Regions from separate parts of the Homo sapiens genome. Here regions 1, 2 and 3 are each linked to region 4. Evidence: promoter capture Hi-C in 16 types of primary human blood cells and fetal thymus (Javierre and others, 2016). All regions are on one chromosome and are shown on one strand. The core of a region is centred on a gene start or on the middle of the fragment in contact, and the rest is flanking DNA. Distances in the headings are between cores, read along the strand shown. Region 1 overlaps SNX5 (sorting nexin 5). Region 2 overlaps RRBP1 (ribosome binding protein 1). Region 3 overlaps DSTN (destrin, actin depolymerizing factor). Region 4 holds the start of NAPB (NSF attachment protein beta).

What was found. The method cuts DNA at HindIII sites, captures the fragments that hold promoters and counts their contacts. A CHiCAGO score of 5 or more calls a contact.
Region 1: a fragment that was not itself captured here is called in contact with the fragment with the promoter of NAPB in region 4 in 1 of 17 cell types (activated CD4 T cells); the score reaches 11.1 in activated CD4 T cells.
Region 2: a contact is called between a fragment that was not itself captured here and the fragment with the promoter of NAPB in region 4, in 3 of 17 cell types (activated CD4 T cells, naive CD4 T cells and non-activated CD4 T cells). The highest score is 6.8, in activated CD4 T cells.
Region 3: a contact is called between a fragment that was not itself captured here and the fragment with the promoter of NAPB in region 4, in 1 of 17 cell types (total CD4 T cells). The highest score is 6.5, in total CD4 T cells.

The regions. Positions count from the first base shown.
Region 1 is chr20:17,964,123-17,966,822 of GRCh38, reverse strand. The region is part of intron 1 of SNX5 (sorting nexin 5); the gene reads left to right. Among named protein-coding and RNA genes, the nearest start is that of SNORD17, 2.5 kb to the right of the region's middle. RefSeq lists an enhancer at 534-613. The HindIII fragment of the contact is 815 bases long and covers 1,011-1,825 here.
Region 2 is chr20:17,678,348-17,681,047 of GRCh38, reverse strand. It overlaps RRBP1 (ribosome binding protein 1), which reads left to right. Exons shown (of 25, transcript NM_001365613.2): 2 at 973-1,049. Among named protein-coding and RNA genes, the nearest start is that of RRBP1, 2.5 kb to the left of the region's middle. RefSeq lists enhancers at 1-121, 313-1,512. The HindIII fragment of the contact is 811 bases long and covers 982-1,792 here.
Region 3 is chr20:17,570,081-17,572,780 of GRCh38, reverse strand. DSTN (destrin, actin depolymerizing factor) reads right to left here. Exons shown (of 4, transcript NM_006870.4): 1 at 2,570-2,700. The coding sequence starts at 2,572. Among named protein-coding and RNA genes, the nearest start is that of DSTN, 1.4 kb to the right of the region's middle. RefSeq lists silencers at 2,266-2,555, 2,576-2,700. The HindIII fragment of the contact is 938 bases long and covers 982-1,919 here.
Region 4 is chr20:23,420,038-23,422,737 of GRCh38, reverse strand. It overlaps NAPB (NSF attachment protein beta), which reads left to right and starts at 1,250. Exons shown (of 11, transcript NM_022080.3): 1 at 1,250-1,433. The coding sequence starts at 1,336. RefSeq lists an enhancer at 872-1,061 and silencers at 1,312-1,401, 2,032-2,261. The HindIII fragment of the contact is 2,788 bases long and covers 451-2,700 here.

The DNA of each region.
Region 1 (2,700 bases), core at 169-2,668, 5.5 Mb after region 4:
TATGAAATAATGGGAAACTAAGTCTTGGGCAACTTTTTGCCATAATACAATTTCGGTAGTCAACTGAAATGTTTTGTGTGTTACCTGAAATGTGTGTTACTTAAATTGTTTAAATGCCCTCCTGATAATTTACTTTGGTTTGGAATTCTCCCTAAGGATGGAGTTAATTAAGACTCACTAAGGTAGGGGGACATACTTGATTCTTCAGGATTTTGAATTCTAGCCCAATACTCATTTTGGCCAATTCAGCAAAACTGAAAGGGAATACTGTGTCAGTCGTGTCTGGTAGCCAGACACTGGCATTTTGTTACATTCTTTAGCCGAGGGTGTTGGGGTTTGCCTTCTTCCTCAGAAAATAGTTCAGGGGAAGAGATGCATGGTTAATTTGGTTCCTAACTGGTCCTCTATTTACTGGTTTTTGATTTTTTTTTTTTTTTTGAGACGGAGTCTCGCTCTGTCGTCCAGGCTGGAGCGCAATGGCTCGATCTCAGCTCACTGCAACTTCCGCTTTCTGGGTTCAAGCGATTCTCCTGCCTCAGCCTCTCAAGTAGCTGGGATTACAGTCGCTCACCGCCATGCCCGGCTAATTTTTGTATTTTTGTGGAGACCGGGTTTCACCATGTTGGCCAGGCTGGTATTTGAACTCGACCTTCGCAGCCTAGTGCTATTTTTAACTAGGGGGTTCTCCTTCCTTGACAGTAACAACTTGGCCTTAACTTACTGCTTGGTTACAGGGACTTTGGTGAATGATATCTGTCCTCTTACCTACTCAGGAGTGTTTGTAGACTAAGTACTGCTGCTCTGGTTTCGTGTTTAACTGGTGTGGAAGCTGCCTCTAGGGGTATTTTTGTTCTCCATTAGCTAGAATGGAGTGCAGTTGGTTAGTATAGGAACAATCCTGAACTTTGACCAATACCATAGCAAGTCCAAACTTACAAACTTTGTGGACTGAAGCTTTATGCTACCCTTGCAACTATTTTCTAAGTTGAGGAAGTATGACGTATCAAGCTTCCCACGCCTTAGTTCTAGTTCAGTAACTTGTACTCGGTGTCTTAAGATCCCCATTTGTGAATACTCTAAAAGGTCATTATCTGTTCACATTATTTTGGCCATAGGTAGAAATGGCCAAGAGGCTTTTTTTTTTTTTTTTTTGAGACAGGGTCTGGCTCTGTCACCCAGGCGGGAGTGCAGTGTCACGATCACAACTCACTGCAGCCTCGACCTGGGGAGCTCAGGTGATCACCCCCACCTCAGCCTCCTGAGTAGCTGGGGCTACAGGCACACACCAGCATGCCCACCTAATTTTTGTATTTTTTGGTAGAGATGGGGTTTCACCATCCAGTTCAACATGCCGGGATTACAGGCATGAGCCATTGTGCTTGGCCAAGGCTGTTAAGTTTTCTAGATTTGTTTCTGAGCTGTAAACTCCTCATTCGGTGAGACCTAGTGGTCATCTAAACTAGAGGTTGAGTTTAAAATTCAGTTTCTCAACCTGGGGAGCACTGTTGACATTTTAGCCTGATCACTTTTGTTGAGGAGTGCCCTCTGGGTTGTAGGATGTGAAGCAACTGTTTTTGGCCTCTGCTAGGACGCGGCCTCCTCCCCTCCCATGGTGATAAGAAGTCAAAATTGCCTGTTTGAGAATCACTGGTTTAAACGGACTTCCTTCTAAAATGGTGTGATATGGGTGGGGTCAGGTTGTGTTACAGAAGCTAGTCTTTGTGTGCTTGTTGCGAATTTTTCAGGTTTTCTATTAATCTTGCCTAAGGAAATAACATGCCATGTAAAAATTAGCATTGTTGGATATCTTTGTGAGAATAAAGCTTTTCCACTAATACTGAGGAACCTTAACAAAAGGTGGTGAAAGATGGTTTTCTTCAGCAGGTTCTGGGTACTTGAGGGTTGCAAAGGGAGGGCTTCGTGTTTGTGTTTGTGAGTGTAGGCTTTGGACACTGGAAACTTACCTGAGTTTCTTGTGCTGCAGAGGGGAACTTGGTTTAAAATTCTGCTGTTTCAGCATTTTTCTGTCTTTATTATCAGGGTCTTGATGCTCGAGCAAATTAGGTGAGAACAGATCTATAGGTTAGTACCCTGAATGTCTTAAATAGCCCGTGGTCACAACAGTGTGTAGTGAAGTTAAATAGTATTTAAGGAAACAGTCTAACTTTTAATGATCCCAATAGTGAGAAACGGCTATTAAAGTGTAAATTAAGTTTCTCTGCATGATCTAACTTTCCAAAAAGTGGCTTCTTCACCCTTAATACCTGTTTTCTGATTGGCCATTGAGGTACTCTGACAAGATCTCCTAAAAGAGATCTTCACACCTTCACATGCTGCCTAAAGGCAAACCATAGTACCCCAGGAGGAGTAAGTTGCAGTTTGAGGGGCAGCCAACACTTAAGTTTAAAAATGGGGGTCCTTGGCTTGACTCTTCTTTTTACATTTTGGCATAACTTTTTTAGGCATTCCTATATGGTCTGGAGAGAAAACTAATTTTCTGCCTGAAAAGCTCAGTTTCTGAAGGGCACACTCCTAAGCATTCTAGTCATGGTAAATGGTGAGGAATACAAATCCAGATGGCTCCCTTGTCAGGGTTTTCACTTTTTCTTTCAAGAGCACCGCAGAGCTAGGACATTGTGCTGTTAGATACTTGGTAGCTGGTGGGTGATAAAATGTTGGACTTCTTCCCTCACCCTTCCT
Region 2 (2,700 bases), core at 138-2,637, 5.7 Mb after region 4:
CGCTTCCAGTGGGGCGCCCGCAGTGCTTCAGGGACCCCTCTCCGAATGATAAGTCGCGAGTTTTAGCTCTAGAGTGCCCCGGCTGGCGAGGGTGACCCCGACCAAGTTGTTTCGTTCGGGGTCTCCATTTCCTGGTCTGCAAATCGGGGCTCCTGTTAGCTTCGATTTGCGAGGAAAGCTGTGGAGACCCAGCACTTGTAGGAAGGAGCCACAAGTGTTGGCTGTTCAGTTGGGATGCTTTTGTTGGGGGGTGCTGGACACGGGAGGAAGGTGGGGCCTGGCTCCGGCACTGCGGCGGGCGCGGGGCTGCAGAAGTTGCACAGCCGGGGTTCTACACCCCGGACCACGTACTGGCCGCCTACTCGCAGGTCCCATAGCCCCTCTGAATCCTAGTTTCTTATCTGTGGCCTGAAGACAGCACCACCCACTCACAGGGTCGGGAACCACGCCGGGAAGTGCTGGGACCTTGTACAAACAGAAGGCAATTTGGCAATTACTCTGAGAGGTCAGAGGTTAGGAGAGACTGGGAAGCACCAAGGAAATGAAACTCTGAGGGACCTGAGGAGCCTCCCACGTCACTGCTCAGCTATTCACTCTGCGTGCTGGAACCTTCAGGGTAGGGGCCATCTGGATGGCATTTTCAGGAATTTGGAGAAATGGGCCTGGTAGGGCCTCATATCTCACATTAGATACCTCTTCAGAACTGGGTGTCCCCAGAGACCCAGGACGTCTGTCTGGCACTCCCAGGAAGAACAACTGCGAATGTTACCCCGCCCTGTGCAGCTGGGGGGCATTCTCCCACTGCCCCGCCTCCCTCCTCACACTCCTTGTTTGATTTAACTTCCTGTTAATCCGACACCTAGAGAAATCTGTGACCCTGCAGCATGTCACTTACTGTGTGATGTCTTGACTCGTTTACGAACTTGCCAAAGGTCACTCCCACTATCATATGCCAACCTCTTTCCCTTCCAGAAAGAAGCTTCCGGTTCTGAGGTCCTGGAGGTGCCATTTCCCTCTCTGTTGAAGCAAAGGCCGGGGCAGACCTCCTAGTAGGTGAAGTTTTCCTTTTACATGGAGCACCGCAAAGCCGGCTTGCAGGGATCTTGGGCCAGTGGAGGCCTGGAGGAGGCTAAGGTTGGGGGAGGGGAAACCAGAAAGGGATCTTGGGGTTTAGGAGAGGGTTTAGAGCTCTAGGCACTATAACAACTCTCACCTTTCATACTTAGGAATCTGCCTCTGAACATTTACAGAGAGATTAAGAAGTTACAGTGGTTCATGGTATATGAGTATTTTTTGGTGATGGAAGAGTTTTAAATAAATCTTAAATCAAGTCACATTTGAGCAATTATGCTCTTTAATGAAATGAGCCCTAACTCAACAGGCTGCAATAATTACATAGCAGCAAACTCAGTTTAAATGGTTGAATGCCAGTGATTGAATTGGAGTATTGATTTATTATGTAGCAGGGACACCTTTTAAAAGTGTCGGGACCCCAGACTCTTCTTGTCTTTTTAGCCCTGGGAATTTTAACTAATAGATGAATGACACATAGAGGATCAACAGTTCTGTTGAGACAGCAAGTTTTTCTTTGCTAAAATCTTGTTTCAGGAGAAACAAAAATAATGGTCAAGTCAGAATGATGAAGGCAGGGACTGTGCTGTCCGTCTGTGCATGCTGGGCCTGCAGTGGTTAAGGCCTGGCCTATAACATCATAAATATTGGTTATACCAGGCGGACAGCGCCCCCATACCTGTTAAACTATTCCCAGCTGTCTCATTGGATAAATGAAGCTTAGCCCAACTTGGTTTTTAAGGTTCACTTTTTAGAATCAGATTCCACAACTGTGGTTTACATTTAGGCCTTAAAATAACCCTGTTCTAGGGGGTGGGAATGGTTGTCACCCATTCAGTGGATGAGAATGTGGAGGTCCAGCTGGTCAGAAGGTTGTCAGGCCAGTTCCTGTTGCCCAGTTGCTAGGCGATGTGGGCCCGGCCTTCCAAATGTTCCCTCCTGGCTATATACCTCCACCTTCCTGGGGCAATAATTACCCAAGGGAGGACACAGAACGTGAAGATCAAAATTAAGAGCTTCAGTGGCAGGAAGGTGGGGAGGCATTTTGAAAATCTGGCAGTGCTGAAGGTATTTTTCATTTCATTTTTTTCACCGAGGGTCTCCTGTGTGGTGGGCCTTCAAACACCGCAAGTGAGACCTAGTTCTTGCCTGAAAAAGCTACTGTCTAGAACTGTGTTGTCCAATACAGTAGCCACAAGTAGCAATTTAAGTTTAAAACAATTCAAATTAAGTAAAATTAAAAATTCAATTTCTGAGTCAAATTAGCCACATTTCAGGTGCTCAGTAGTCATAAGTTGGTCAGCGTGGCTGTAGATGGTTTCCACCATCACAGAAAGTTCTAGACAGTGCTGATGTAGAGGCAGCTGGTATTCTGTAAACATTCATGTCCCTGTTCCTCTTGATCATGTGGTAATATGTTGAACCACATGAAATTGCCCATTCTGTAGGTCAAAACCAGTTGACTAGTGGCAGTTGATACACTTCACCTGATAAGATCTCACCCTGAGAAAGCATTAGTCCCGCCTCTTTGTGTGCATTGTAAACTGCATTCCAAGAAAAAGGAGTGGGAGGGGGGCCACACAGATAGTGGCCCTTTCCTGGAGAGATTTTTTACCCAATGCCCTCAGC
Region 3 (2,700 bases), core at 201-2,700, 5.9 Mb after region 4:
TTAAAACTTGGAGTTGGAAAAGGTGATTTGTCTCAAGTCAATTAATCCTTTACAATCTGTTTTCTCATATGTTAAATAGGCATGTGAATACATGCCCAACCTATTTCACTGGGTTGTAGTGTTTTTGCTAATCACCAAGTATTAGAATACTTGAATACTGCGCCAATTAGTTCAGTCTGTGAGACCACAGTCCAGATTAGGATAAGGTTAAGGGTTAGATTATCGTGCAAACCTTTTAACTCTACTTCAGGGGCAAGACTACACTCTTACTTTCCAAGAAGCATAAAAGATACTCTGGTTACAAGAGGAGCTAGGCAAGTCTAGGTGTGATGTCTCAATCCATATCCAGTAGAACTACTGAGCAAATAACCTTAGTAACTTGATGATGGGCTACTAAACAATCTCTGTATAAGGAGGCTGGCACACCCAGTACACACACACACACGTTTTGTTTGGGGTCTGTAATTGTGGTTCACGTGGAGGCAGACGTTGTTTGTTTTTTGTTGGAGGAGACATCTGAAAACATCTAATCTCATCCTGAAGCGCCCAGCTGGTTTCAAACTGCTTTATTTCAGGTGCTTCTAAAAGACTTGGTGAGTACAAGGAAGTGATTCTGCTAATTTAGAACAAACCCATCGGTAGTTAAAATTTAATCTTAAAAGAAACTTGGAACCAAGCATCTAACCAAAAGAGCTAAAAGCAAAGTGCTAGACTCTGGGATAATACCCACAATATTCTCTAATCACTGAACTAAACAAAGATGCTCCTGCGCTCATAAGGCTAAAAACAAAAATAACCTTTAAAAATGGGGGGTCTATAATCTGAACTCTAAGAGTAACTTGTAAGGTCTTCTTGATCTCCCTAAAGCCAACAATTTTGAAGCGTATTTGGAAATCGCTCATTTCTAATTTTTATTTCTCCCACTCCTCACAAGAACCAGGAAATATAACAGACCCTTCCTTCCTTGAATTTAGTTAAGCTTTAACTAAAACTAAGCATTTAACTAAAGGTAAAATGTTTGGTCTCTTATTTTCAAACAGAAAAATAAAGTCTGTATTAGCCACTCAATAAAAAAGCATAATGTCAAATCAGAAGTCTCTAGAGCAGACCCTAGTCAGCTTCAAAGCACTTTCACAGAGTGAATGGTCTTAAGCGTACCATAACTCAAAGCCCCTAGATTAAGTCTTTCAGTATAAAGTAGCATATACATTTAAAATGTTATTAAATTTCTAATAATTAGATATTAAAAAGACTCAAGATGCTGATACTTTGTAGCTTACAGCATTAAACCAAAGAAGAACCAAAAACTGAACAGTATCAAATCCCTATTACATACATATCTACAGTCATCAAGAAACTACCGGTTTATCTTTTCTTTCACTAAGGGGCCGCCTGCATGTTCACGGAAGTTGTAGTAACTTAAGAAAACCAAAACTGTTATACAGTGAAAACAGTTTGTATGCAGATAAGCTGGTACCAACTGCTTCTAGACAGATGCAATTACAGTGTAATATTTCTAGCAAAGTCTGGTAAGGCTACGCCTGCAAATCACTGACCAAAAATGGTAACAGTGTGTGCACACTAACGAAAACGACAAAATGTTCCAACTGATAGTTCAGTTGAGAATACGTTTTTAAATAGCTAATTAGAGTGACAGTGTAAAGGGGGAAAATATGTAAATTAAGCAAAATGTCCATCATATAGAATATACTAATGAGCACCTGTTTACTTTCTGGTGACTCCAGTATTTTAATGGTTTTTAAAGCTCTTAAATTTGGTTGTATCAGCATCCCAGCATCATGCCCACACCTTGCGCACCAAGTTCTGGCAGAGTCCAACTGTCTACAGGTCAGAAAAAAAATTCTAACCATACACGGACAGATCGGGCAGGGAAGGGTTAAAACAGACACTGCCAAGCTTGACAAGCACGACGAGAGTGCTGCTGGAAGCCGATTGCCAGATAAAAAGAAAAAAACAAAGGAGCTGCAAGGCCACCCCGTTCTAAATCATGCCAGGATCCTGCTCGTTAGCGATCATTCCGTGCTCTAGGACTGTTCCATAAAGGCTTTATCTTCCTTATTGAGATGGACAGACCTCAAGGGCTGGAACGCGCACAAGTCACCAAGCGCCTCAGCGCCAGCTCTGGGGAAACCCACGCCAACAAGGACGGTGGCCGGATTCCGACGCCCCCCGCCCCCCACTCCCCGGCCTCGGTGTGCAGACCCCCGGATGGATTTCACAGAGCGGGTGGGGGCGCTCGACCCCAGCCAGTTGTTGCAAGGCCGGGTCTGGAGACACCCGCAGAGGCCACGCTCAGGGCGGCGGCCTCGCCCCAGCTGGGAGCTGCGCAACAGCCGCGGATCCACCCCGGGGCGCGGGGGCCCAGCCAGGACGGCGGGAGACGGAGGCCCAGAGACCCCCCCTCACCCGCAGCCCGGACACTGCAGCCGGACCGGGTCCCTCCCCGGGCTGAGGCACGGCTCACCCCCTTAGCCCCGACTCCGCGGCGCCCCAGAGACACACTGCTCCCGGCCGCCTCGGCCCACGCCTCGGCCTCCCTCCTACTCACCATCTTCGCCGCGGCGGTCGCAGGGACGCGGGGGAGGGAGCCGGCGGGCAGCGAGTATGCAGACCGTCCTCCTCACGGCTGCGGGACCGAGAGACCCAGCGCTGAGCTGACGCGGCGGCGCGAGCTTACCC
Region 4 (2,700 bases), core at 1-2,500:
TTGACTTAGCCTCACTCCATTAAGCCCCCATAGACTGCTCTGCTTTCCAAATGCTTATGTTCACTTTTTACAGTTTTTCTCTGGTCTCCCCTGCATTTACGGTCACCTCCAATTTCCCGCCTCCTTCTCTCTCCAAAAACACACAGCTCAGCTTTTCAAAGTTAGAATAATGCATGTAGTAATCGTAAATAAACTGCACGAAGAGCTGAGATTTCTTTCTATCTCTACGGAGTCCTGAAATGTATGAACTCTGTGACATGTGCTTTAGTCAACTTTCTTTCTAGGAGTTTGGCCCCTCTTGCCTTGCCCTCTACAGACAGTCTTCATTTTCTAAAATTTTGCATGCCAGTGCCCAGAGTGTATTTATTAACAGTTTGAAACTGTCATAAATCTCACTTGGCAGTGATTTTCTTATTAGTTTCAGCATCTCTGCCTTAGCACTGCCAAGCTTGAATGGTCTAGACATTGTCTTCAAAAATAACTCCCTCTGGGACAGGCCTGAAAGTCTCTGGCACAGGATCCCATCTATCTATGGATACTTCTCCTAGGAGATTAGAAGTCTTCCTGGCAGGCAAACATTTTGTCCCTGGAGATCCATCCACTATGGCCAGTATTATGTAAAGGATAAGAGTTCAATGGTTCACATCCATTGAATATAATTCAGTCAACAAAAGAGTGGATTATGCATATATTGCATATATGCAACTCATTTATAACCAAGGAAGAGAGGACCAACAGAAAGTTACAGTTTGGGGAGATTTAAAAATAACTGAACTTATATTGGGGACGTCTTGCTCTTGGAGATAAAAATGGCTCTTATTGCCAGCTGTTGCTCGTTTTTTGGTGGGCGGTATCAAGCATGTGATGCTTTGGTGGCTACACCAGATTCTCTTTTGCAGAACTTGCATGAAGGGTGTGGGTTCCATCCAATCTGTTATCCCCTGTTCCTTCATCCATCCCATTGCCATGCGAGTCTTACTGAGGAGGTGATCTTTACTAGAGGCCACGGATCATTTTTCCATTTCTGCATACATACAAAATTAAAGTTCACCTTGGCCCAGGACCCCTTTGGGGGGGTCACGCCCCCTGCGCCGACGTCCTGGGAGCTAGCGGTGCGCAAGCTCGGCTCACACACACCCCGCCCCGGGGCCTCCTGGGAACTGTAGTAGGCGGCTCGCGAATCCCCGCCGCCATGACAGGACCCGGACTACAGCTCCCGAAAGGCCTCGCGCGTCGCGCCTGCGCCTGCGTCCCTGCGGCCGCCAGAGGGAGGGTTAAGGCGCCTGGGCGCACAGCGAGCCGGCTGAGGGGGCTGTGGCGGCCGCGGCGGGCGACATGGACAACGCGGGGAAGGAGCGTGAGGCAGTACAGCTGATGGCGGAGGCCGAGAAGCGAGTCAAGGCCTCCCACTCCTTCCTCCGAGGGCTGTTTGGGTGAGCGCCAGACCGTGCGTGCCCTGGGGGGGGGGGGTCTCCGTACTTGGCCCCCTTCCTTTCAGGCTGACCCCCCGAGTCCCCCACGCAACCTCTGGGGCCCTCAGACCACGTCTAGGGGCCCTCAGCCTGCAGGCGCCCTCCAGAAATCCTGTAGGGTCCCCCAGCGCCCCCTGGAGCCCCCAGGACGCCCAGGGGCCCTCAGTCCGCACGCGCCCTCCAGAGACCCCACAGGCCCCCCCAGGGTCCCTGGAAACCCCGCATCCTCCCAGGGGCTCTCAGCCCCCACGCGCACTTTAGAGACCCCCTAGGGCCGGCAGAACTCCCCAGGGTTCCTCAGCCCCCACACGCTCTCCGGATCCCCTAACACGCCCCCTTAGAATCCCCAGAGTCTCACAGGGACCCTCAGCCCCCACGCGCCTTTCAGAGAACCCCTAGGACCCCCAGAGCTCCCCAAGCGCCCCACGAAGCCCCTAGAACACTCTGGGGGGGGGGCTGTCAGCCTCACGCGCCCTCTGGAGACCCCAGATCGCCCCCCTCGCCCTGGCCCGGGTTGGTGCGGGGGTCCCACGACCTAGAAGGTCAGCGGCTCCCTGAGGCCCGCGGGCGCGGTAGCTCGGGGCGCGCGTGGGGCCCCCTTCTCAGTGCGTAGCGAGTCGTATTGGTGCATTTCGCCACGCTGAAGCCCGTATCGCTCCTGAGACCGGTCCGGGTGAGGCGCGCCGGGGTGGAGCCGGAGGGGTGGGTGCGGGGGCCGCCCCCGGCGCCTGGAACGCGCACCTGGGGGCGTCCCGCCTGCAGGTGGGCCCCGCCGGGGAGGGGGCGGTCCGGCGAGGGATCCAGAGCTGGTGTGCTTGTTGGCCTCTCTCCAGGGGCCTTGCGCCGAGTACACCTTTAGTAAATACTTGACTAATGAACGAATATATTTTCTCAGCATAGTATTTTTCCTTCTCCGGAGATTGATTGATAGCCAGAGCCTCCTGTTTGATTAACGGTAACGCTGCTGCTGTTTAAGTCAGGCGTCCTTTGGGAATCCCTTTAATTTCCTGTAATTCTTCCGTGCTCTCCTAAGGAGGATTTTAAATTCCAACCTCTCAAAAAGCAGAGCCCGCACTGACAGCCCGGAAGAATTCTGGGCTGTTGAATATGTGAATGATTCAGCTGTTTAGGATGAGAAAGGCAGAAATTTTGTGTGTGCCTGTTTCGTTGTTTTCTTTTGAAAGTGAAAGATCCTTTGCTGTTACCAAGAGCAGATACTTAACCCATT